6 separate regions of the Homo sapiens genome follow, and all the other regions are linked to region 2. The links are contacts of gene promoters, found by promoter capture Hi-C in blood cells and fetal thymus (Javierre and others, 2016). All regions are on one chromosome and are shown on one strand. Each heading gives the region's core, a stretch centred on a gene start or on the middle of the fragment in contact. The rest is flanking DNA. Distances are from core to core; before and after follow the strand shown. Region 1 overlaps BTBD9 (BTB domain containing 9). Region 2 holds the start of ZFAND3 (zinc finger AN1-type containing 3). Region 3 overlaps BTBD9 (BTB domain containing 9). Region 4 holds the start of DNAH8 (dynein axonemal heavy chain 8). Region 5 overlaps LOC105375044 (a long non-coding RNA gene). Region 6 overlaps BTBD9 (BTB domain containing 9).

Evidence for each region. Contacts are between HindIII fragments. The CHiCAGO score rates a contact against its expected background, and 5 or more counts as called.
Region 1: a contact is called between a fragment that was not itself captured here and the fragment with the promoter of ZFAND3 in region 2, in 1 of 17 cell types (naive B cells). The highest score is 6.1, in naive B cells.
Region 3: a fragment that was not itself captured here is called in contact with the fragment with the promoter of ZFAND3 in region 2 in 1 of 17 cell types (total B cells); the score reaches 7.1 in total B cells.
Region 4: a contact is called between a fragment that was not itself captured here and the fragment with the promoter of ZFAND3 in region 2, in 1 of 17 cell types (total B cells). The highest score is 5.3, in total B cells.
Region 5: a fragment that was not itself captured here is called in contact with the fragment with the promoter of ZFAND3 in region 2 in 1 of 17 cell types (naive B cells); the score reaches 5.1 in naive B cells.
Region 6: a contact is called between a fragment that was not itself captured here and the fragment with the promoter of ZFAND3 in region 2, in 3 of 17 cell types (M2 macrophages, M0 macrophages and monocytes). The highest score is 7.3, in M2 macrophages.

What each region holds. Positions count from the first base shown.
Region 1 is chr6:38,579,351-38,583,564 of GRCh38, forward strand. BTBD9 (BTB domain containing 9) reads right to left here. Exons shown (of 11, transcript NM_001099272.2): 5 at 868-1,087. Among named protein-coding and RNA genes, the nearest start is that of BTBD9, 58 kb to the right of the region's middle. The HindIII fragment of the contact is 3,488 bases long and covers 1-3,351 here.
Region 2 is chr6:37,818,251-37,822,531 of GRCh38, forward strand. It overlaps ZFAND3 (zinc finger AN1-type containing 3), which reads left to right and starts at 1,477. Exons shown (of 6, transcript NM_021943.3): 1 at 1,477-1,766. The coding sequence starts at 1,696. ZFAND3-DT (ZFAND3 divergent transcript) reads right to left here and starts at 1,137. Exons shown (of 2, transcript XR_007059569.1): 1 at 328-1,137; 2 at 1-240. RefSeq lists enhancers at 684-1,073, 1,043-1,845 and silencers at 1,124-1,503, 1,544-1,773, 1,934-2,103. The HindIII fragment of the contact is 21,540 bases long and covers 1-2,647 here.
Region 3 is chr6:38,553,476-38,557,561 of GRCh38, forward strand. The region is part of intron 6 of BTBD9 (BTB domain containing 9); the gene reads right to left. Among named protein-coding and RNA genes, the nearest start is that of BTBD9-AS1, 74 kb to the left of the region's middle. The HindIII fragment of the contact is 2,930 bases long and covers 1,319-4,086 here.
Region 4 is chr6:38,712,553-38,716,695 of GRCh38, forward strand. DNAH8 (dynein axonemal heavy chain 8) reads left to right here and starts at 2,759. Exons shown (of 93, transcript NM_001206927.2): 1 at 2,759-2,863. It overlaps DNAH8-DT (DNAH8 divergent transcript), which reads right to left and starts at 2,663. Exons shown (of 2, transcript NR_186581.1): 1 at 2,514-2,663; 2 at 1,618-1,746. RefSeq lists a silencer at 2,746-2,795. The HindIII fragment of the contact is 557 bases long and covers 1,581-2,137 here.
Region 5 is chr6:38,643,940-38,647,619 of GRCh38, forward strand. The region is part of intron 1 of LOC105375044 (a long non-coding RNA gene); the gene reads left to right. Among named protein-coding and RNA genes, the nearest start is that of BTBD9, 5.9 kb to the left of the region's middle. The HindIII fragment of the contact is 1,281 bases long and covers 1,428-2,708 here.
Region 6 is chr6:38,501,305-38,505,244 of GRCh38, forward strand. The region is part of intron 6 of BTBD9 (BTB domain containing 9); the gene reads right to left. Among named protein-coding and RNA genes, the nearest start is that of BTBD9-AS1, 22 kb to the left of the region's middle. The HindIII fragment of the contact is 452 bases long and covers 1,129-1,580 here.

The DNA of each region.
Region 1 (4,214 bases), core at 358-2,857, 760 kb after region 2:
GAAGAGGCATAAGTGGGGCACAGTTTCTGGGTATGCAGGGTTTAGGTTTATGATAAACAGCAATGAAGGAAACAGTTCAGTTCTTGTCACTCATACTGCTCTGGTACTTCTGCCATTATGGTTGAACCTAGAAGCCACAGTGGGTGAAAGCATCACAGTGGCTGGAAGAAAGGCAGAATTCTGAAGCCCCCAAGAAACTAAATGGGTTCCCAAACTGGAGTTCATTAAACTTTTTCACAAATTTCTTTTGTTTTGAGGATAATACTTATCTACACACTAAAAGACATTATTTCTCTTCACCATATGGTAAAATGCATTTAAAAGGTTATAATATTCAAAACCAATGAATCAAGTAAATAATGTTAACTCATGGTAGAATACAAAACGACTATTAAAAATACATTTTAGAGGAATATTTTTTAAAGGGTAGAGTGTTCACAATGTATTAATTTAAAAGTAAAATTAGCTTTTTGTATATCTAATCTTCATTTTATAAAACTATGTTTGTGCAGGTTTCTGTTTTGTGTGTGTATGTGTCCATGCATAATTGAAAAAAATGCTAGATACATATGAAGATTAATAATGGGTAATGAGATTACTAGCAATTTTTATTTTCTTCTATGTGCTCTTCTATATTTTCTATGGTTTCTACAATAAACACATATTTTTATAAGAAGAAACAAACAAAAAAGTGTATTTCTTTTAAAGAAATATATCCTTTAACTCCTTCCCCAAAACCAACCTTCAAGAGATAGCAGAATGATCACAAAGAAATAAACCATCATATCTGTAAAACAAAAGTAGATGACCACAAAGCTAAGTCATCTCAAACATAATGTCAGTTTCTAAGTCATGCTAATCACTTACCGGCTATCTCGGTCCCACAAGAGTATCCGTATGTGATTGATAATGGATGGCTGACCTAGCTTAATCTCGATGCCGGAACGGCAGTCATCATCAATTGGGTGCCTTGAAAATCCATGATCCAAATCATAATTTTGAGTATCACCATCTAATAAGGCTGATTTCAGCTCCCCCTTTACAACTTGGGCTCCATACTTCATAGTTGCAATGTTTTCTTCTGGTACTACAGTTAAAAATAGAAAAAGCAAGGTTAATGATTACTTATTTATTCTGTATTTTTTGAAAAAAATACAATTCTAGCATTCCAGTTTATTCTAGTATCTGCATTTAAGAACAGCATAGACAAGTTTATTGGATAGAAAATACAGAACATCTATGAGGATTAAGACACCATTCAGAGGCCGGGTGCAGTGGCTCATGCCTGTAATCCCAGCACTTTGGGAGGCCGAGGCAGGTGGATCACTTGAGCCCAGGAGTTTGAGACCAGCATGGGCAACATGGGAAGACCCTGTCCCTATTAAAAACAAACAAAAAAAATGTTCAGAGTTTAAATGTAATATTAGTATCACAACCACAAAGTGCTTGAGACTAATGTTATTTTTCAAAAGTTAATAAAACTAGAAAAGGCATGTACTAGGACAAACAAATCAGCTCTGCTGAGTTCATTCTACTAGTAACTTTAATATCTACTAAACAGGCGGGGTGCAGTGGCTCATGCCTGTAATCCCAGCACTTTGGGAGGCCGAGGTGGGCGGATCACCTGAGGTCAGGAGTTCGAGATCAGCCTGGGCAACACAGTAAAACCCCGTCTCAACTAACAATACAAAATTAGCCAGGCGTGGTGGCACATGCCTATAATCCCAGCTACTCGGGAGGCTGAGGCAGGAGAATCACTTGAACCTGGGAGGCAGAGGATGCGATGAGCTGAGATCGCGCCATTGCACTCTAGCCTGGGCAACAAGAGTAAATCTCCGTCTCAACAACAAAAAAATCTACTAAACAAAAATAGCATGTAAGATGACCTGTACCTGCCATCTGGACTGAGGACAATGTATAAAAGCAAAGCAAACAGGTCAGAAATCTGTTAAAACAACAGAAAAAGAAAGGTTCCAATATAGCATAGCTGTTAGTTATATATGAATATGCTGAAATTAATTAATCTAGCTTATAAAACAAGATCGTTTAAAAAAGATATCTTTTTTCTGCACTTGAGAATTTTTAAAAATGAAAATTGATAGTCTGTCATCAAAATCAGTATTATGGTTATTATTAAATCCCCTCCCCTCACCAACATTAGATTTATTAACCACCAATTGTGCCTGGGACTCTGAAGTCCTCCGTGTAAATTATGCTTCACAGATGTGGAACCTATCTTCCAGGTACTAACATTCTAAAACTGACACTCTCCATGGAAAGACAAGAGGCTGCAGAAAGATATTAAGAGCTTGAAGAGTCAGAGATTAAACAGTGGCTCCACATTTAGCCAGGTGCATCACTTTGAAGAAGTTTCCCTCTCTCAACTTCCATTTCTCAATGGGGTGGGGGGGAGACCATATCTATCCCCCAGGTGTTTCTGTTTAAGAATTAAATGAGATGATGTTTGTAAAGCATATTATGAGCTCTACTCATATATACATATATTTTCAAAATATACAGCCATTACTATTAAGAAAACATATTAAAAAGCACACGATAAGAGAACTATGTATGTTTACAGACTGTAAAAAAATACCGAATTCTCACAGTACACATACATTTTGGTTGTGTGATTTGAATACGGGAAAGTCTGGGCTATAATCAGGTTATTGGCAAAAAGATAGTAATTCATCATTGCAGATTTCTGGAAAAATTTTTTTTAATTTCAAATGAAGATGAGTAAAGAGAGTGGCACCAGAAAAGAACAATATATTGCAGCTGAAAAATGGAAGTTTAAAATGGAAGCAAAAGACTGTAGCAACCCAGCAAAAATAAACAAAACATCCTAGTTATGCTTAACTTCTTACCATCAGAAGTTTAAGTGCTATCGATTTATAACTTTCTAAATTCTATTAGCGTGTGATAATCACCCATATTCTTCCTATTTAACAAATCTTCTATAATACATGACGTGCTAGACACTGTCCTAAGCACTTTGCAAATATTAATTCCTTTGACTTACTCCTCATAATAATCCTTTGAGTACAGTACTATTATTACATCCATTTCACAGATGAGAAGTGGAGGCAGAAAAAAGTTAGACAGACTTACTTGTCCCAGGTCACAAAGCCAGGAAGTAGCAGAGCTGAGATCAGAACCTAAGCAGTCTGCCTGCAGAGGCCCTGTTTTTAACAGAATATTCTGCTCCTTCCCTCTTGAAGGGTTTCTGATGAATGGCCATACCTTCTCCCTCTTTCTAACCCCCACTTCCCTCTAAAATTGCCTTAGACCCAGAGGAAAGAAACAAATAGTATGATATAGGGGAAAAAAATGTTAAAGTGAAAAAAACCAAGCTTAAGATTCAGGCTCTATCATTCACCCCCCTTGAGTAAGGCCTGTTAGTCTCTCTGAATCTGCTTTCTCATCTAAAAAGAATACTTTGTCCAACTGACCTCATAGGGTTACTGTAAAAAATACACTACAGATAAAAATTACACTACAGATAATATATGCTAAAGTAACATATAAAGCGCTCATTCAGTATTCAGTCAAAAGGCATTTTTCTGAGGACTCATCCTGTACCAGGCACCATGCAAGGTATCGGGAAGAATTAGTGAACTCGACAGAGATAGGCCCTGCCCTCCTGACACCTCCAATCTAGAGAGGAAGTACTTTATAAGCAAGCAAGCAAACAAAAGCTTGAAATCCATGCTATTCAGATATCAATGATGCATAACTACTTGGTAAAAATAAATGTGTTTTCCCTTCTTACTAGGCATAAAAAGTGGAGGTGCAAAGTCTGTTGCTGCTGATCCCTGGAACCATCTCCTGCAGTCCTGACACCACAAGTCAAAACTAAGCCAAAGGCTGGGCACGGTGGCTCATGCCTATAATCCCAGCAGTCTGAGAGGCCGAGGCAGGTGGATTGCCTGAGAGGTCAGGAGTTGGAGACCAACCTGACCAACATGGTGAAACCCCATCTCTACTAAAAATACAAAATTAGCCAGGTGTGGTGGCATGAGCCTGGAATCCCAGCTACTTGGGAGGCTGAGACAGGAGAATCACTTGAACCCAGGAGGCGGAGGTTGTAATGAGCTGAGATGGTGCCACTGCACTCCAGCCTGGATGATAGAGCCAAGACTCTATCTCAAAAATAAAAAATAAAAAAACTAGGCCAAAGACGGGAACATCAAGCTCTCAGATTTAGAATCTAA
Region 2 (4,281 bases), core at 227-2,726:
TGCACAAACAGAAATGTGATTTGGTATATAAAGAAATAAGATAGCAACATTTGGTAATCAAATTAATCTAGGTAATAGTCTCTCTGAGGCTCTGATATACCCGACAGGCAAGGAGGGTATACGGCAGCTATTCCTAAGAGCCAGGAAGTCTTCCTCAGCGATGGGTCTCCAAAAGGTCTGGAGGATGTTGCCTCCGTGTTGAATTAGTCATCAATAATCGATTTCTCTGTTCATGACTAACTGGAGATCAGAATGAGCTCAGGATCAAGGACTAGGATCGTTAAAGGACTCATTTTTTTAGTGTCTCAAACTTCTTTGGTCACTTACCAATTTCCATTACTGATTCAGCTACAGCTCCCCTTTCCCCTCCAAAAACCAAACGTGTCAGCTGTAGGAAGAAGTGCGGCTCTCCTAGCCTGGGCATAGGGACTCGCCTGGGCATAGATAATGTACTTGTGGCTCTGTGGTTGGGAGTGGAGACAAGGAACTCCCCAACACCGGTGGGGGAGAAGAGACAAGGAAGTTGCCCCAGACAAGGGGCTGGGGGAGGGGCATTTCCCAAAAGTTCCTGTCAAGAGACCAGTATACCGGGTGGAACTATAAGAGTTGTTTGGGTGTGGCGGGACCAGGAAGAGAGAGAGAGATGCCCAGGGAGTTGGCAAATTGGGGAGAATGGCTCCCCGGAATCGCCCAGGAGCCAGAGCGGCAGCTCCAGGGACCTTGACTCCGACGCCCCCGGGAAGCCAGAGCTCCACTTCCGCGTTTGGCATTGCTCCCCCAGGCCCCTCCTCGCACTCGGTTACGGGTTCTACGGGCGCATGCGCCGCCACTCTGGGACTGGCCCAATTTACCCTACACAACTAATCTGCTCCTCCCCCTCCCGCTTGGAGCGCACCATTCGCGTTTAGGGGGAGGCACCGCGCCCCGGAGTACTCAGAAACCTGCTCCCCTTCTTCAGACAGGGGGAAGATAAGTTTGCTTCAGATTCTAAAAGTTCTAAGAATACGAAGGCCTCAGCCGCCCGTCGCCGGGCGACAGCCCGAGGCTCTCGTTTTCTCCCACAGCCCCGCACTCCGCCTTTGAGGCGCGGAACGAAGTGGCACGCCCGGATCCCAGCTGATCAGCGGCTGGGCTTTGGCGTTGGCTCCCCCGGGCGAGACCATTGTGACTCCTCGGGAGGGGCGCACGCCGGGGAGGGGGCGGAGCGGCCATTGTCCGGTCAGCGCAGCCTCCGGGGGAGGGGACGGTGTTACGGAGACAGCAGGGCCCGGGGCTTCAGAGCGGCCGCTGCGACTCCGGAGCCGGCGGGGGGCTCCGGTCCTTCCCTGCGCCACCGCACAGGACATCTCTCTGGCTGGGGAGCGGCGGTGAGACCCGCCGAGGGCGTCTGTGTCCCTCCTCCCCCGCGGTCCTCGGTGCGTCCGCACGCCCCTCCTCCTCGGCTCCCTCCTTCTTCTCTCCGCGCCTCTCCGCCCCCTCCCCGTCTCCGCAGGCCGAGTGGTGCGGCCCGCCTCCAGCTGACCGGCCTGGAATCCCGGCTCCGAGCCCCGGACTCGCGCCCGCCCGCGCGCCCGCTCCTTCCCCCTCCCCCCGCCCCGAGCCCCCCGACGCCGCCGCCACCGCCTCCTCAGAGCGGGGCCCGGGCCCAGCCGCCGCCACCGCTGCCGCCGCCGAGCTCCGCCGCCGCCGAGCACCATGGGAGACGCTGGGAGCGAGCGCAGCAAAGCGCCCAGCCTGCCGCCTCGCTGTCCCTGCGGCTTCTGGGGGTAAGTGCCCGGCCGGGTGGGGGCGGGGGGCGGGGGCCGGGGGCGCAGACGCCAGGGCAGCCTGGGCAGGCCTCGGGGCCCGGGAGGCCGGAACCTTGGAGGCTGGGCCCAGCCCGGGCCTACGGGGAGGGGGTGGGGGTCGCGTTCCGGGGAGGGGTGCCGGGTGGGGAGCTGGGGGTGGGCAGAGAAGGCCCTGCCGGGGGTGCGTTGCTACCCTTTGGGACTCGCCGGCCTGAAGCTCGGGCCCACGGGGGCCTCCTGGGCCACGGGTGAGGGGGGCAGGGCGGCGGGGAGGGATGAGGGGGCGGCGTTGACCGCTCCGGGAGGAGCAGGGGTGCCCCTTCCGTGGGCATGTGGAAGCCAGCCCTTCCTCCCTCCCGGGGCGTGAGTTGGTGCCCAGGCACTAGGAGGGTATTTCCTCTGACTTCTTCACCTCCCCTCCTCCCCGTCCTCCGGAGACTTGCATCATCACTTCCTAGATTATATCCCAGTGCCCCATTTGCTTTTAGGAAGCTATTCACACGTCACCCGTTTGTAAAAACCGAGTCCAGAACCAGGCTGGGGTAAAGTTATAAGATTGTTGAGGTCTCACCTTCATGTAAAACACGTTTCAGGAGATATGTAAAATTTCCTTGTCAAAAAGGAAGAAAAAAACCACACAAAACCTGAAGTCAGCCTGGATTGGGGAATATGAGATCCAGTTTCCTCAGTTGGCTCTCAAATTCTCCTCTTTCTCAATTTAAGTAAAAATGATAAAAATGTTGACAGTGGGTAGCATATATTGTTTGGCCATCATGTGTTAAGGCGAAAAAAATGTGAGGTGGGAAATCAGCTCCTCTTCCTCCCCCCATTACTGTTTAAATTCTCCTGGTAACACTTTAAGCTTCATGGATTGCCACCTAACAGGTGCCTCCATCATACCACATGACTGTAGTTCTGCAGTAAGAAAGCTGGAGACTTTGAAGGCTGGCTTTTGTGATTTGAGTCCCTTTTCTCTTTTATCGTTTTGTTTTAGTTTTATTTTTTGAGAGATTCCGTATATTTGGAGACATAGAGGCAGGAAGGAAGATTGTTTCTGGTGAGGACATCTTGGGAAGAAGTATGGAAGTAGTTTTCCCTTTGCTATCTCCCATATTGTAGGAATGGTTAACAGAAATTAAGAGTAATTTTGGGAGTGCAGAGAAAGATTAGAAAGTGGATCTTAATGTAGACTTCTGTGGAAGTTGTCGTATCTCAAGGTTATGACAAAGAAGTGGATTTTCATTTTCTCATTTTTCTGCCTTTCTCAAAAATTTCCCTGTGGAAGGACATTAGTCAAAAATAAGTTGTGGCATATAAAAAGTCCTAAAAATGTGAAAATATTTCTAGTCTTCCCTTCATTTTGATTTGAAAATAATTGGTTTGCCTGTGAAGTGCTTTCATGGACTGTCTAATTCCCACAAGAATCTTGCGAGGTAGGAACCATTATCTCATTATTAGCTGGGGAAACTGAGGCTTTGGGTGGATAATTTGCCGCTTCACACAGGGAGTGTAGGGTGGAGCTGGTGAGCTCTTTAGAGTGCGTAGTACCATCATGTTTATGGTATCAGTCTGCTGCCCTGGAAAAATCTTGTGTCACAAGCCTCAGATTGTAACTCATTGTAAGACATATGTCCTAAAGAAAGTCGCTGCCAGTGGCAGCTAATGCTCAGGATGTATCAGGTCTCTTTCCTGGCAACACGTTTATGTCCTTCGGACTGTTACCATGAATGGAATCTTTATCGAAAGACTTATATCAAGGCTTAGAAACTAAGGAAATGGAATAGCCTTTTACCTTTATTTATTTATTTATTTTTGAGTCGGAGCCCTGCTCTGTTGCCCAGGCTGGAGTGCAGTGGCGTGATCTCGACTTACTGCAGCCTGCACCTCCCGGGTTCAAGCAGTTCTCCTGCCTCAACCTCCCAAGTAGCTGAGACTGCAGGTGCACACCACTATGTCCGGCTAATTTTTGTGTTTTTTAGGAGAGACGGGATTTTGCCATGTTGGCTAAGGTGGTCTCAAACTTCTGACCTCAGGTGATCTGCCTGCCTTGGACTCCCAAAGTGCTGGGATTACAGGCATGAGCCACCGCGCCCGGCCAGCCTTTTACCTTTAGCCGGTAGGGTTCTGATAATGCCAATAGAGTTTGGTGGCAGCAGACAGGAAAAGTTACACTAATGTTGTACTTGACCTATAAGCAACCAGGGCTTCTTTTTAGATATTTTCAGTCTGATACTTTTTATGAACTTCAGTTTACCTAGCAGGAGTAGTGACCACAAAACTAGTATTTTTATCGTGAAAAGTGTTCTTTTTGGTGCAATGTTTTAACCTTTCCTAAGGACGTTTGTAGACAATTGTGTAGTTTGTATTTTATACCAAAGCATAGCAACATTGCCGCCTTGTTTCCATCGTATCACAACTGACTTTGGACATGTTTCCCTTACTGTATGGGCCACATTCATATTTTGTTCACTGAGTAAACTTAGAATATATTTAA
Region 3 (4,086 bases), core at 1,534-4,033, 740 kb after region 2:
AAGAACAAACTGGTTATCCCTTACACTATATTCCCTAATACTAGTTGAGGAGTGACCTCTCTAAAAGATCAAGAGCAAAAAGTCTTTTTAAAAGATTCTAGACAATGTAGGATACTCTTTGCCATAAGAGCCAAAGCCAACAGAAATAATCCTTCCACCCTTGGGAAAAGAGATAATGGCAAGACTTCTCGTTAATAATCTAGCTAAATGATAGAACTTAAAAGATCTTTGACTAGCTGAGTGTTGTGGCATGTGTAGTCCCAGCTACTTGGGAGGCTGAGGTGGGAAGATCAGTAGAGCCCAGCAGTTCAAGGCTGCAGTGAGCTATGACCATGCCACTGCACTCCAGTCTGGGTGACAGAGCGAAACCTTGTCCCTTAAAAAAAAAAAAAATCTAAGACTGATTACTAAACCATTGGGAACAGGAAGTTCTGGGTTCAATGAATTTCTATATATTTTTTCATACTGGACACATGAAAGACATTAAACAAAACACACTATTTACTAGTTTAGCCGTCTCAGTGTCAACTTTTCAACATTTTGATGAAAATTTTGATCATACTAATAAAAGAAACCATATGGTATTGAATATTTTCAGCATCTAAGAAGGTAAATCTCAGAGTCAAATCCTCAGACAAACATAAATTAAGATTTATGGCTAGCATGATATATGAGCTACATGATTTGCCATAAAATAGAGAAGAAGGAGTCAGTCACACATCATACTTTTGAGTGAAAAGCAATCTCACAACTATTAAGAGATTCATGATGTGCCTGTCACACAGATGCTATAGACAGCCACACAAATCCTGTGAATGTTTTGTCCCCAGATCAAGGGACTTATCTCAACTATACAGTGACTAATTCAACCCCTCTCAGAGGAATGAACTTTTCCAATAAAAGAAAAATAAATGGAAGTGCCAGCCACTTTAAATCAAGCACTTAACTAACGTGTTGCTATTTAAATTGTAGATAAATATTCTGGCCTAAGTTCAAGGGAGGCATGAATGCAAACGTGGGTCATAATGAATGAGCTCTATTTAGAAAATGGCTTTAAGGTATACATTTACTTTTCAAGTTCCCAAAAAAATAATCTTCTGATTTTATTAGAACGGAGCTTGCATACTGTTTGGAAGTTACCAGAAAATCAACTGTGCATTGTAATTTCAAGTGATATATGTTCTTTTCACAGATTTCAAAATCCCCAAAACACTGAATTCTTGGATACTATCACAACCTTGGGGTATTCCCCAGACTCTAAGACTTAAAAAAAAAATCCAAAAAGGAATGGTATCCTCAGAAATAATGGGCTTCCAGAAGCTTGGCTGTAGTGAAAGCAGCCAGCAGGGTATATGAAACTCCACTCTTGCTGTTGCAGCGGAGCCTGCCAAGTCTACCAGTAGGCCAAATTAAGGCTGGTAAAGTTACAAACACGTTTTCCTTTTCAAATGGATTAGGAAGCTCCAAAATGTATTCATCTTAGAGTGTGAGTAACATCAAAGCTATGGGTGATGCTACTAAAGAGAAACAAAGACTTCAAAAACAATATTGCTACAGTCCCCTCCAGTACCCCCAAACTGGAAATCTTTATTTATGTAATGCCTTTTGATTTAATGAGTGACCTGCAGTCCTTTCTCCAAGATAAAAGTATAATCTGCTGATTAGCTACTCTTCTAGAATAGATTATTGCTCATCAAGGTTCTGTTTCTTTGCCTCACTGGTTAAAAGACAATTTTACTAAGGATGACTCACCCCATCTCTAACTCTCCTTGCCTGTGTTTGTTGCTGCTGTTCGTTACCAGCAAAACTGGAGAGGGAAGACACACAGACACATAAAGACAAGTATATAACCCATTACAGGAGGTTCTCATTATTCCAGAACAACAATTACCTGAAAAAGGACATTTAAAGTGAATTCACTTGAAATAACGACCAAAATTCCATAGTGAATGTGGAAAAGGGGTTTCATTACATTAAAAATTGAGATTAAATGTAAGTATATATTTAATCTTCTACTTAACAAAACGTATGTAATAAATGCAACTATGTGCTAACCAAAATAGTAGTAGTAGCAGTAGTAGTGATAAACAGTTGTTAGATATCTTTTAGTTTTTCTAGCATTTCCTAACTTCCCCAGCACAATTACAGTGAAGAATATTCTTCCAAAAATACCTGGACATCACCAACATTCCTTTAATTTTTAATTGTCAGATTCTTCTTTTGAAATGCTTACCATGTCATCATTTTGGTGGATTTTCTCTTTCTCAATTATTCACTGGTCTCATGCTGCCAGAATTTTATTTGCCAATGGCTTCGTATGTCAGTCTGGCAGCTTTTCAACCTCACTTTTCTCTATTTCATGAAATCTTTATTTCTTGTATTTTTGCAAAATCTGCCATCTGACTTTGCAATTGAGTACACTGATTTTACATCTTCCGAACAATCAGTAAAACACTATAACTAATGGGATGGGCAGGAATAGAATTCACAGGGATGAATGTTTGAGTGGGAACTAATTTTACACGTGGACAGTTCATTAGTGAACATTTTTATACTATGATTACTTCTGTTTCCCTATGCAACCTTCAAAACTGCAAGGCTCGAGGTAATGAATATTCAGCTAACAAGGGCATCATATACGAAAGGCCACAGTCATCATGGAAATGCCTGTCTTTGGGAACTAGAAAGGTTTCTCAGGGAACTAGAAGCACATCCCAAGGTACATCCTAACATTCTACATTTTAATGTTTCCTGTCTGCATGGCCTATCATCATAGTATAAATAGACTAAATAAAATGATAACTAGTATGCATCCCACTATTTGATCATGAAAATGATTTCAATCTGGCACCATTCACTAACTATAACAGCAAAATTAAAATCTTGATTTATTAATTTAAGCATTCAAATGTATATCTGACAACTGCCAGATTCCAGACCTACTAAGGGGTCTGGAAAGTCAAATGGCAAATGCTTTTAGAAGATTAAGAGATATATAGCAAGCATATGGATATTATCTTTGTCCTATAAAGTGTGTGTGTGTGTGTGTGTGTGTGTGTGTGTGTGTGTGTGTGTGAGAGAGAGAGAGAGAGAGAGAGAGATTTGATCACCCAGGAGTAAAAGTTATTACTTCAGAATCCAAAGTCCAAAATAAAACATTTTTTTTTAATCTTTGAAGCCTCACACACAAAAAAAGATAATACCACAAGATGATAAACAGAGATGAAAAAGACAGCACTGTGTGTTTAAAAAGACCTTCGGCCGGGCGCGGTGGATCATGCCTGTAATCCCAGCACTTTAGGAGGCCGAGGCGGGTGGATCACCTGAGGTCAGGAGTTCGAGATCAGCCTGACCAACATGGTGAAAACCCGTCTCTACTAAAAATACAAAAATTAGCCAGATGTAGTGGCGCCTGTAATTCCAGCTACTTGGGAGGCTGAGGCAAGAGAATCGCTAGAACCTGGGAGGTGGTGGTTGCAGTGACCCGAGATCGGGCCATTGCACTCCAGCTTGGGGAACAGAGCGAGACTCCATCTCACCAAAAAAAAAAAAAAAAAAAAAAAAAAAAAAAAAAAAAAAAAGGGCCAGGCACGGTGGCTCACATCCTCACATCTGTAATCCCAGCACTTTGGGAGGCCACGGTGGGCAGATCATGAGATTGGGAGTTTGAGAACAGTCTGGCCAACATGGCAAAACCCCGTCTCTACTAAAAATACAATAATTAGCTGGCAGTGGTGGCAGGCGCCTGCAATCCCAGCTACTCAGGAGGCTGAGGCAGGAGAATCACTTCACCCCGGAGGCAGAGGCTGCAGTGAGCCAAGATCGTGCCATTGCACTCCAGCCTGGGCGACAAGAGCAAGACTCAGTCTCAAAATAAATAAATAAATAAATAATAAAAAGACCTTTAGAGTCAGACAGACCTCAGCTTCAGTCCCAGCGGTTATGTTCTAGCTGTGTGATTATAAGTTCAATATGCTCTCTAAGCCTCAGTTTCCTCATTTGTGAAATACAATAGTTGGACAATAATACTTATTTCCTGGGTAAGACCAAATGAAATACTCAGTGTCTGGAAAATTGTGGGCCTTA
Region 4 (4,143 bases), core at 609-3,108, 890 kb after region 2:
TCTGAATTGATTGCAACCTGTCTCAGATACTTTTGGGTTCACAGTTGCTTAGGTTCTTATTGTCAGGTTTTTCAGGTTTCTGCACTGGCAGAGATTTTTGTTTGCAAGTAGAATGGACCACACTAAACAAGATATAAATGTGCCATTACAGCCACAAACTGATAATCCTTCAAGAAAAGCTCAAAGGAATGAGCTGTGGATAGTTATTTAATATTATATATGTTTTACTTGAATAACTGGTTACTTAAATTGTTATTTGATAATATGACCATGTGGTACTTTAGGATAATTATAACATAGCAAATATTGCTAATCTGTGCACCTTAATTGCATATTCCCTACAACACCTAGACATTTCCAATTGGTTGTTTTGACATTTTTATTTCGGTCAATAGTATCATCTTCCTCTCAATTGATGAGGCTTGAAACCAAACTCGTCATAGAGTTAGACATTTTTCGAACTGGAAGGGAACTTAGAGATTATCTCAACTCCCCCATTTCTTTTTACAAATAAGGACATCCAGTAATAGAGCAGTTTCACAATCTGAGGCTTAGTCGACTAAACGGTTATTTGTTGAGTAGCACAGTAACAGGACTCAGTTTCCCTGATTACCGGTTCAGTATTTTTCTTCACTACACACACTAATACTAAACTACTACAAATAACAGCTAGCATTGATTTAGCCATTACCATGTACTACTGTGCTAAGTGTTTTTATATGTGTTCCCTCATTGTATTTTCGGGGACACTTAATACTCAGGATCGTGGGCACTTAATGTCTTATATAAGTGCTGCATGGGGTTTACCTTCTGTTAAGCCTCAAGAGAACTCTGTGGAAGGTACAGTTTTCCTGTATCTCAGGCATTCTCAGGGTTGCTATCATTTGGCAGTATTCCATGAAGCTAGTTTTCTGCCAGAGTTAATGAAACTATTGCATGGATCACGGTGCTACAAACCTAATACAGCAACACATGTCTTTAGAACCAAAGCTCTGTCCATATTTAGTATTATTTCTTAGGAATATATTTTCAAAAGAGGCATTTGTAGGTTAAGGCATATGAATGAATATATTTAAGGCTCTTTATTAAGGAATATGGTATTCTGGTTTGTTTCTTACTACATGAGAATAGAGAGACAGCATAGGGACAGGAAAAGAAGGCAAGTATAAAACCTGCCCCAGCTCCATCAGTGCCAAAAGTAAACAATGAGATTCGATGGACAAGAGGTAGAGCACTTGTCCTCAACACTACCTCAACAAATGGCAGGAGTATCATATGGGAGGCCGGTTCCCCCAACCCCAAGTCCCAATGGGCAACCCCGTGGACCCAGATGCAGGCAGTGGACTGGGAGGCAGGTAAAGAATCTAGGGCTAAGTGCTCAGTATCTTTTGTATCGAGCAGTAAACAAGCTAGTCCCTCTCCCCAGGAAGTGAGCAATTGTGCCTTTTCGTGCCGTGGTTGCTGTGGCCTGCTGAGTTGCCTAAAGATTGGTTAAGGAAGTGGCTCAGAGTTAGAGGGTAGGTAGGTCTTGCATTTCGGCACAGTCAGCAAGGATATTCAGGAACTCCCTTGCTCCCATAAGCTTATATTGTATAATCACTGAGTAATGTCTATTAATATGGATGGACCATGGTTTATTTAATTTGTGATTTTTTATATTCATTCTTGTTTTTTTTTTCAGTTGACAGACCTTTCAGTCCTCATTCCACATTGATCTGCTCTACATTCAAAGACTGACTTTCACACCTGTAAGACAAAATAGTTTATGTAAGAAGCTATATTTGCTCATTCTGCTTGCCAGCAGAATGTCAGAGAATTCTTTGGCAGCTACATTTCACAAATCCCCTAACTCAGTGACTAAGTGCAGCCCCTGGAAGAATGCCCCTGAAGATGATAACATCTCTTGCATGAATCTTTTCTTGCAAAAGTTCCAGGATCCTAACTCATGCCTCTTCCTGTACATAATAAGATAATAGCTGATAGGATTAATGATTATGCCTCTACAATCTATAACCAGATGTACCCTTGAACCCCACCCTTGATGAGATTTTGCTCTAATGTAACTGCTGAGCTCATTTGATGTAACTGCTGAGCACATCTGATGCCACTTCCCATCACATGCCACCACCTGTACCTAAGCTTTGGAGCAGTCTCACAGAAAGTCTCTGAAAGACTCTCCGGATTGCAATCCTTAGTAAGACATCTGAATAAAACTAATATTAATTATTTAAATGACTGATTTTTTTTTCTTTGGTTAACACACCCAACTAAAAACGGACCGCTCACATCATGTCAGGCAGTCACAGCAAAAGCAGAACCGTACTAGAGAGGGGAGGGGGTGGACTTGGGAGAGAAGTCAGTTTTCCCCCAGAATCTTTCTCTCTCATCAGTCACAGGTTTCTGAACACACTGACTCACCAGGAAACACTTTTTAGGTTCTCAAGGAAAACACTAAGTAACTTCAGAAACTGTAAAGGTCATAGAAAACATTATTTTATATATTTCCGTATTACCACGTATACGCGGGAATCCTCCCAAGCCCCTGGCACCGCACTCCAAATGTCCATCTCCAGGAACCCGCCCTTCAGTGCCTGGGGTCCCCTAAACAATGTTTCAGTCCTCGGGCTCGGTGGGTGCATCCTTTATTGGGGAGCGCGGGGGCTGCCCGTGCCCCTCCAGTCGCTCCCCGTAGGGAGCTGCGCACTGCGGAGCCCTCGCCCCCGAGCGAGCCTGTCTCGGACTCCCAACCGTCAGCCTCGTTCCGGGCCGCGGAGGCCGGAGCAGCTCCCCCGGGGCAGCGCAACCGCTGGGGCCGGCCTCAGTGGGCTGAGTGGTCGGGGCATCGGGGCCCAGAGAGCGGCTGGTGAGTACTTGGTCGGAGCGCGCTGTGAGCGCCCGGCCCCTGTCCGGGAGGCCCTGATGCAGCCGGGTTCCCCGCCCACTTTCCTTCTTTTTAGGGGACTGGAATCCACGCTACAGTTCAGTCCTCCACCTCTGTTAGTTGAACCCAGGGAACCCCTGCTTCAAAACCCCAGCTGAGTCACTACCCTTTGTCAGTCTCTACACTGGACATCTAAGTGACTTCACACCCACTCCCCGTTTTGAGACTAGAAAACCAAATACCGCACGTTCTCACCTATGAGTAGGAGCTAAGCTATTGCTACGCAAAGGCATCCAGAGGGGTATAGTGGACTTCGGAGACTCAGAAGGGGAAGGGTGGGAGGGGGGTGAGGGATGAAACAACTACATATCGCTTGCAATGTATGCTACCTGGATGACCCTGAAGTCTCAGACTTCACCACTATCCAATGCATCCATGTAAAAAAACCACCTGTACCCGAAAAGCTATTAAAATAAATAAATAAATAAATAAATATATATATATATATATATATATATATATATATATTTTTTTTTTTTTTTTGAGACGGAGTCTCACTCTGCCGCCCAGGCTGGAGTGCAGTGGTGCGATCTCGGCTCACTGCAATTTCTGCCTCCCTGGTTCAAGCCATTCTCCTGCCTCAGCCTCCCGAGTAGCTGGGGCTACAGGCACCCGCCATCACGCCCGGCTAATTTTTTTTGGTATTTTCAGTGGAGACGGGGTTTCACAGTGTTAGCCAAGATGGTCTCGATCTCCTGACCTTGTGATCCGCCCACCTCGGCCTCCCAAAGTGCTGGGATTACAGGCATGAGCCACCACGCCCGGCCATATACCTATATATTTTTAAAAATTCAAAAATAAAACAAAAAAAATGCCTCTCCCTCCGGCTTATTTCCCGTTCCTCTACCCTTCTCATTCCCCTCTAGCCCAAAAGTCTCATCACTGAATTTACCACTTTTCCCAAGATAGTTGTGCCTCTTTTTGCTTCTCTGCTTTTGTACGCCACTGTTCCCACCTTCTGCCTATAATGTTTCTCTCTCCCATCCTCTCCTGACAACTCTTCTTTAGACCCGACTCGGGTGGTACCTTCTCCGTCAAGTTTTCTTTCTTTCTTTTTTTGTTTTTCAGAAGTTTTGCTGCCTGCTAAGCTCTCTTAGCCCTTCGTTAATTCACCTGTCATTGACATTGACCATCTTGTGTTGTATTCAATAGTCTGTCACACCAATTTGATTGTGCATTTTGCTTTGGAGAAGTCCTTAGTC
Region 5 (3,680 bases), core at 818-3,317, 830 kb after region 2:
GATTACAGTGAGCTATGACTGTGCCAGTGCACTTCAGCCTGGGCAACAGAGCAAGACCCTAAAAGCTAGATATAAATATATTGTAAGTATAATACAATATACTATAACAGAATCTGTATGAAGTGAAATGAGGGATATATAAAGTGATACAGATAAGGGCGCAGTTAGCTCTATCTAATGGAAGTCAAGAGTGTTGTACTTACCTACACTGTTAAGTAAACACAGTATGCCTCAAAAATGGACACAAATATATTAAGGCATTTCCATGGAGGTAAAAAAAGAACAGGAGAATTGTGCTAAACCAGCGTTGTCACCTAACATTCCTTCTAGGTAGTTTTGTTGTGATCTAAATGAATATTTATATATAACTGTTTCTAAACTAAAATTGGTTAGTTGTTAAAATGGACACAAATAAAAGTTAAATGCAAGAATAATTTATATTTTTCCAGTAGATTCAAGAGGAAATATTTTTTGTCACTAATGCCATGCTTTAATACATTTGCTTGTCTAATCCTCATGTATTATCTTACTTAATTTTGTAAACATTAGCTTATTGTATAGATCACTGACAAAGTATCTGTTTTAGCAGATAGGGACAAAGTTTAAATAATTTGGCCAAGGTCATAGTAGACCAAGATTTGGACCCAGCACAAGCATCCTCTTTCCAGGAAACCTTCCCTCAGGCCCTTAGTTGGTTTAAGTGCCCTCTCTCTGTACTATTAGCATATGCACACACATTCATTTTAGCGTTGACTTTAATAATAAGGATGTTTACCATGTACCAGATACATAGTACTTGCACCTATGTTATCTATGTTTAAGTGTTTTGTAGGCATTAGTTCATTTAAGCCTCATAACTGCCCTTTGAAGTAGGTGATATTATTCACAATATTTTATAAAACAGGAAGCCAAGGCATAGAAAGTTAAGTAATTACTCAAGGTACAATTAATAAGTGATAAAGCTAGGATTCGAATCCATGCTTTTAACCCCCCAGGCTTCATACTATGTACCCTTTCCCTTATACTGAGGAATTCTAGAAGGCATAGTTGACAGGTTGTTGTGTGTGATATCACTCTGTGTTCCTCATATGAACACAAGAGAATTTTCTCTCTGAGCCACAAGTCATGAAATATTTGGCTACCCTTGAGTAACTGATGTGTTTTCTCTTTATAGGCAATGTGAATTATATAACTGCCTGTTTTTCACTTTTCACTTTGCCAAGAAGCTCTGAGTAAATTTGTTGGCTCAGCGTTTGTAAGTGGGTGAATTGGCCTGCATATCTGTATTCTGTTGCTTTGAAATTTTTAAAAATAAATAGTTGAGAGAAAAATAATGTAAATTTTCTTTATTTTCCAAATTGTTGACAATGTACAATGATAATTTTTATAATTAGAAAAATAAACTTTGTTCTTAAAAGAACGTTTGAAGCTTCAAATGATTTCTCATGCTTTGACTCTGTGAATAAGAGCTGGTTTCAGGTTAAGTTGCATGAGTTAAATATAGAATCCAGGTTCATATAAAACCAAGACTTCTGTATGACCTGGAAAGTCCAGATCAATAGAATTGTTCAGACGGATCAAAAAGTATTTTAGGTAGCATAAAATAGTTGTAGCCCTTCTTGTTTTTAACTTATGTTTAAGTAATTTGAAACCACTTTTAGGTTATTTGGACACATGCTCCCTCGCTTTAGAAATCAAAAAACCCATTATCTTCCTATATGCTGATGATATTTTATTATAATAAACTTTATGGCTGATTTTGTTGCTCACCGTTTATCAGAAGGAATGGATCAAGATCACCTGTTCCAAAACTAAAATAATTTTTTAGGGCACATGTCCTCAAATTTAATTGGCTTAGATCCAGTAACTAAATACCACGTTAATTTATTTACTTAAGGGTATGTTTTGCAAGTAATTCTTCCAGGTAGATTTACTGGCCAGCCACTTTGCTAAAAGCCATACATTTCATGGGAGCATTAATTAGATTTTCCTACCGTCAGAGTGAGCAACTGATCATTTCTTCTTTGAAAAATTTCAATCCAAATTTTGATCATTCTCCAACAGAGCATTCTAATGCCTAAATGGCCTAGGCAGGTGGGTAAGTACTCTATACTCAGCCCAGCAGATTGTTGCTATGTGGTATAAGCATCCAAAGTTGCCAGATTTGAAATCTGTTGACCTCTAAATATTGGTAACTAATGGGAATTTTTTTTAAAGAAAAGAAAAACATGACTTGTCTGTGAGTTCGCAGACCTCTTGCTCTATTGGATGGAACTTGATGGTCTTGAACACTTATTTTTTTTATTTTTGAAGTGTTGTTTTTTTAAGGAAAATCCTAGATTGCCTGCAGGGGCTCTCTCTATTCACTACCATATGGAGAGGAATGTTCCTATTTAGGTGAGAATCTTAATAGGGTGACTCACTCTTCACAAAAGGCTGTCAGCCCTCTACCATCTGCTTTTTAGATTACTGAATTCTAAACAGTATGTATCTGCCTTTAGTCAGCCACACAATATTAGCTGGTCCATCAGGACACTGCATACCTGACCATATTGTCCTGAGCACACACACAGAAACTTTCCTCATCCACCACCAAGAGTGTTTTCATGGCTTGTATTTTGAGTATTGTGTCTTCTGCATATGTTAAGCAATTCTGGAAGAGACAACTCCACAGAGCCCACCAGTGCATTGTGTGGGCAAATAGGCAAAGCTTCCCCTCTGCCCTCTGAAGCTGTGCTGAAAATGAACTGACAATATGCAGATTAGGAGAAAAGGGTATGCAAATTTATTAACGTGCATAAGCACAGGGGAATCACAGGAGAATGATTATCCAGTAACACAACGAGGTCCAGATGCTTATATACCCTTAATAAGAGAAGGAGAGATGGGGGAGATGTGGTAATTTTAAGGGACAGTAAGTTATTTTTAGGAGGAATAAATGGCTCCAATGCTCAGGCAATGGTTAGTAAATGATTCTCTTTGGGAATTGAGTGGGAAGGGAAAGTGGATGATAGTTTGGGACAAAGTTTGGGCTCTACATGTGGTGTTTAATTTTCAGTCTCTTCCTCTGATGTGAGGTTTAATCTCTAGTTAATTTCAGGGAGGGAATCAAAGGCAATTGTGTTCCTCTTTGATGGGTCCAATTTATAGGTATATAAGGGAACTAAAGAGAAGAGCCTCATCCTGAGCTTTAGGAGAGATAAGATTGGAGATGGGATGTGGGTGAAGAGGTGTCAGATTTTGAAGCTGCTTCTTTAGTACTTCAAAGTGCCATATATTGGGGTATCATCTTCTAAGCTCCAATAGCTTTTACTATAGGATTGTTACTGTGCACTTGATCACATGAGAATTTTCTTTCAGAGCCAGGTATCATGAAGAGCTTGGCTACTCTTGAATAACTGATGTGTCTTGCTTACAGCAAGTGAATTGCATAGCTGGATATGTGTTCCTTTTCACCTTAGCTGCCATGAAGCTCTGAGTCAAAGTGTGGCTCCATTTTAGTGCCTGAGTAGAAACCTGTGGTCTGTATATCTGCATTCTAATTTGTTTTCTACTGGTACTGAACCTTGTACTTAAGTTTGGGTTTTCTCCTTCTCTGGTTTATCTATAATTTCCTTTTGCGACGGAATCTCACTCTATTGCCTGGGCTGGCTGGAGTGCAATGGCGAATCTCAGCTCAC
Region 6 (3,940 bases), core at 105-2,604, 680 kb after region 2:
GATTTCAGGTTTTCGGATTAGGAATGCTCAACCAGTAGGTATAATACAAATATTCCAAAATCAAAAAAAGTTCAAAATCCTTAACACTTCTGGTCCCAAGCATTTCAGATAAGGGACACTCAACCTGTATCTTCAGTGCTTTCCACTTGGGCACATAGTAAACACTCAATACTTGTTGATCATAGATGTGAGTACATTTTTCTTGGCCCCTTTTTGCATCTAGTTTTTCTTTCACTGCAGTCCCTGCCAATTTACATCACCAATCCCATCCCTTGGTGTATAAGAGAGCAACAGTTCTCAAAATGTAGTCTGGGGACTCCTGGGAGTCCCTGAGACCCTTCTGGGAGGTCTGTGAGATCAAAACTTCTGAATTCAGAGAAGTTATTTACCTCCCATGTCTGTGCACTTGAGCTTTCCACAGGCTCCATCACCTGTTCTGTCACAACAGATTGAATGAGAAATGGAGAATCCAGCAGTCTTCTCTTTATTATGCCAGACATTAAGATTTGCAAGGCTACTCTCTCCATTAAATTAATTTTTAAATAGTTATTTTTCATCAAAAATGATATCTATATTGACATGTAATGGGTTTACTGTTGTATTTTTAAGACAACAAATAAATATTGACATATCCTGCATAAACAAAAGCTCTTTGGGGTCCTCAACAATTTTTAAGAGAATAAAGGGCTCCTGGGAACAAAAGTTTGAGAACTACTGGTATAGAGATAGCAATCTGCAATATCCTGGTGTCAATGAGAAGCTGGTTTCTATTGTCAAGAACTCTGCTAATCCCTAGAGATGCTGATGCTGGACACCTGCCAGATGGGGATGTTGTAAAGGGGATTCAAATGTTGGCTTGGGTGGCTGGGCCAGCTGCTCACCATGGTCTGTTCTAACAGAAGATTCTATAATTCTGTCTGAGAGGGAACCTAAAGAAGTCTTTCAGAGCTTTGGCTACTGACATGGAATATGAATAACACTTAATTTACCTTCATTTTGCTACCCACGAAACAATATGAGTACATTTTTTTTCCATGGTGTATTCTCTTCATTTTGGTATAATATTTCCAACATTTTGGAAGCAAGGTGATTTTTAAATTTTGCTTGTTGAGTTTTTATTAAAAGAAAAGCTTTCTCTTCCATGTCCAGCCTCCTACCATGTTCAAATCACAAAGACCAGTACCATTTGCTCTGAAGGGAAAGAATGCTAAGGGAAGAGGACTCTGAGAATGTCCTATAGACCAAGGTCAATAACGAGGCAAACATTCTGCTGACAGAAATCCCCAAGGCAAATACACAAATACCAAACCTGCAGAGATGAGCAGGATATCTTCATCTTCTGCGCAGGTCTTACTCTTGCGTAACACAGAAATAGGATGGCTTATCATTAATGAGCACACTGTGCCCACAGAAATGAATAAGTTGTTTAGAATATATGGCATCAGATTCATGAAGGGAAAGAGCTATTAGGAAAATAAAATGACCATACTTGTGCAATTTGATTCAATTCAATGAACGTTAACTGAGTGCCTGTTACATTCCAGCCATTATTCTAGGTGATCATGAAGAGAGGATAAATAAGCTTTACTGTCCAAGAACTCACACTCTGAAAGGGAAAACAGGTAAATCACTGTAACGCAATGTGATAAGTGATATAAAAGTAGGTGCTCCACACTATGGAAACAGATGAGAAAGCAATTAATTCAGTTTGGTGGAAATAGGGGAAAACTGACATTCTACGTGTAATGAAAAGGGAGGGAAGTGAGTTTATGCCTAACTCACTCTCCAATCTCAGCTGAGCCCTCACTATCTCCTCATGCTCTTTCTATGTGTCACTTCTATTATTCCATTCTCCACAGCAGCTACATCACACCTCCTCCATTCCTCTCATGTCTCCTACCCAATCCCCCATCGCCCTACTCTCAGCAGCTGTTCCCGCTGCCTTCTGCAGAAATGAAAGAGGAGGGGCAGCCTCTAGCCAACAACCCACAAACAGGGCTGCTGCCCTCCCCCTTCTCTCCAGGAGACGGCCCAGGCTAATCTCTCCACCAAGACTTTACAGCCCATCTACCTGTTCTCCCTTCTCAGGTAGCTCTGCTCTTCAACCTCTCCCTCTCCAACCTCTCTCTCTCCTGATTTCTTATCACTAGCAGTTAAACATGCTTCCCCAACAGCCCTCTCAAGTTACTATTTTTTTCTCTTAATGCCCCATAAATCCCAGAGCCAGGAGATAGAGGAGGCAGCTGTCCTTGTTCCCCCCTACTACTCTCAAACCACTTCATCCCTTTTTGCTTGCAACTCTCCCTGCCCTTTCACAGTTCTAGCTCCACCCACACCAGTCACCATTACCTACCAACTTCACACTCATCCCACCAAACTAAAAACTTACACTCCTGGCTCACTTTTCCTCCACTCCTACTGCTGGCATCACACGCCAACAATAATGCACACTATGTAAACAATATATTGGCCTCCCAGGTCCTTCATTTCCTCAACTACAGGGATCCTTTCTTCCGTTAAACCTCAGTGATTCAAATCCATGGGCAACTCCTTCAGTTGGTCAAGAAAAATCATAACTCTGCCAAAATCTAAATGCAAATATATCACACTCTAACAGCCCTTCCCATCCTTTCTATTCATTTGCTTTATTGTCTCCATTGCTAAAAATTCTTGCCCCTCTTTGAACCTTCTAATCCACTGATCCCGCCACAGTCTCACAACCCCTTTCTGCCCTCATTTCCCTCCTCTGTTCAGCTTAGATACTATGGTCTATATATAATCATTCCCTTGCAGAGTGCCCTCACTTCCCCGTCTGTCTCTTTCCATCATACATGCCTGGCAAACTTCAGCCCTAGATGATCTCAAGTATCCATCTTCTCTGGGCACAAACCCAAGTAACTGCATACGGCTAGAGAAAAATCACACAATTGGACTTCATTTCAAATGCAACACTGCTCAGCAATCTTACTACACTCCCGCTCCTACTTTCTAGGAATTCTTTTGTGCTTTGAGCTTTCCAAGTAACCTCCTCTTTAACTGATGATGGGCTATTATTTTACGGAGACTACAAACTTCCTCATGTTACCACTACCCAAACTACAAAATTATGGGCATCTATAATTTTCCTTCCTCCCTTTCCCTATGAAAGTCCAATCCCTCTACTGAACTTTAGACCACATCTCCTCTTACCTTTTGAGGACTTTGCACTGTCACTGTCAGTTAGATCCCTCTTCTCCTGTATCATAGATCTCTCATAAACTGCGGGTGAAATGTGGATTTTTTTAGGCTTTGGGGGAAGTTATTAACAATATAGTTTAAAATTATATAAAATACACCTATCTTTCAACCCAGGAAGCCCATTCCTAGAATGTTTCCTATATAAATACATTGTACCAGTGTGTAAGGATGAACACAGAGACAGAGAAACATGAATGTTTATTGTACTATTATTTTCAGTGACAAAAATGAAAACAAAGGGAATGTTCATCAATAGTGAAAGGTTGAGTAAATTGTGGTAGAAGCATCTATGAACCATCATACAGCCTTCAAAAGAATGAATTAGGTCGATTCCGGTGCAATTGCTATGGCTCTACTTCCTTTCACTTGTCTGCTGTTTCCACCAAAACACTGGAAATGCTTTTGTAATAGCAACCATTAATCTAGATGATGCCAAATTCATAGACACTTTTCTGACTCTATTAGAACCATTTAACAAAGTTGCTTATTCCTTCATTCCTGAAGCACTACCTCTCAGCTTCCACTATACTACCTTTTCCTGAGTTTCCTCCTCCCTCATAAGCTGCTTTCTCAATTTTTTCTTACAAGTTATATCTCCTTTGACCACTAAATACTGGCATTCCTCAGGGCTTAGTCCTGTATCCTCTTCCCAGGTGATCTCATTCATTTTCATGGCTTTAAGCAAATCTACATGCCAACGAAT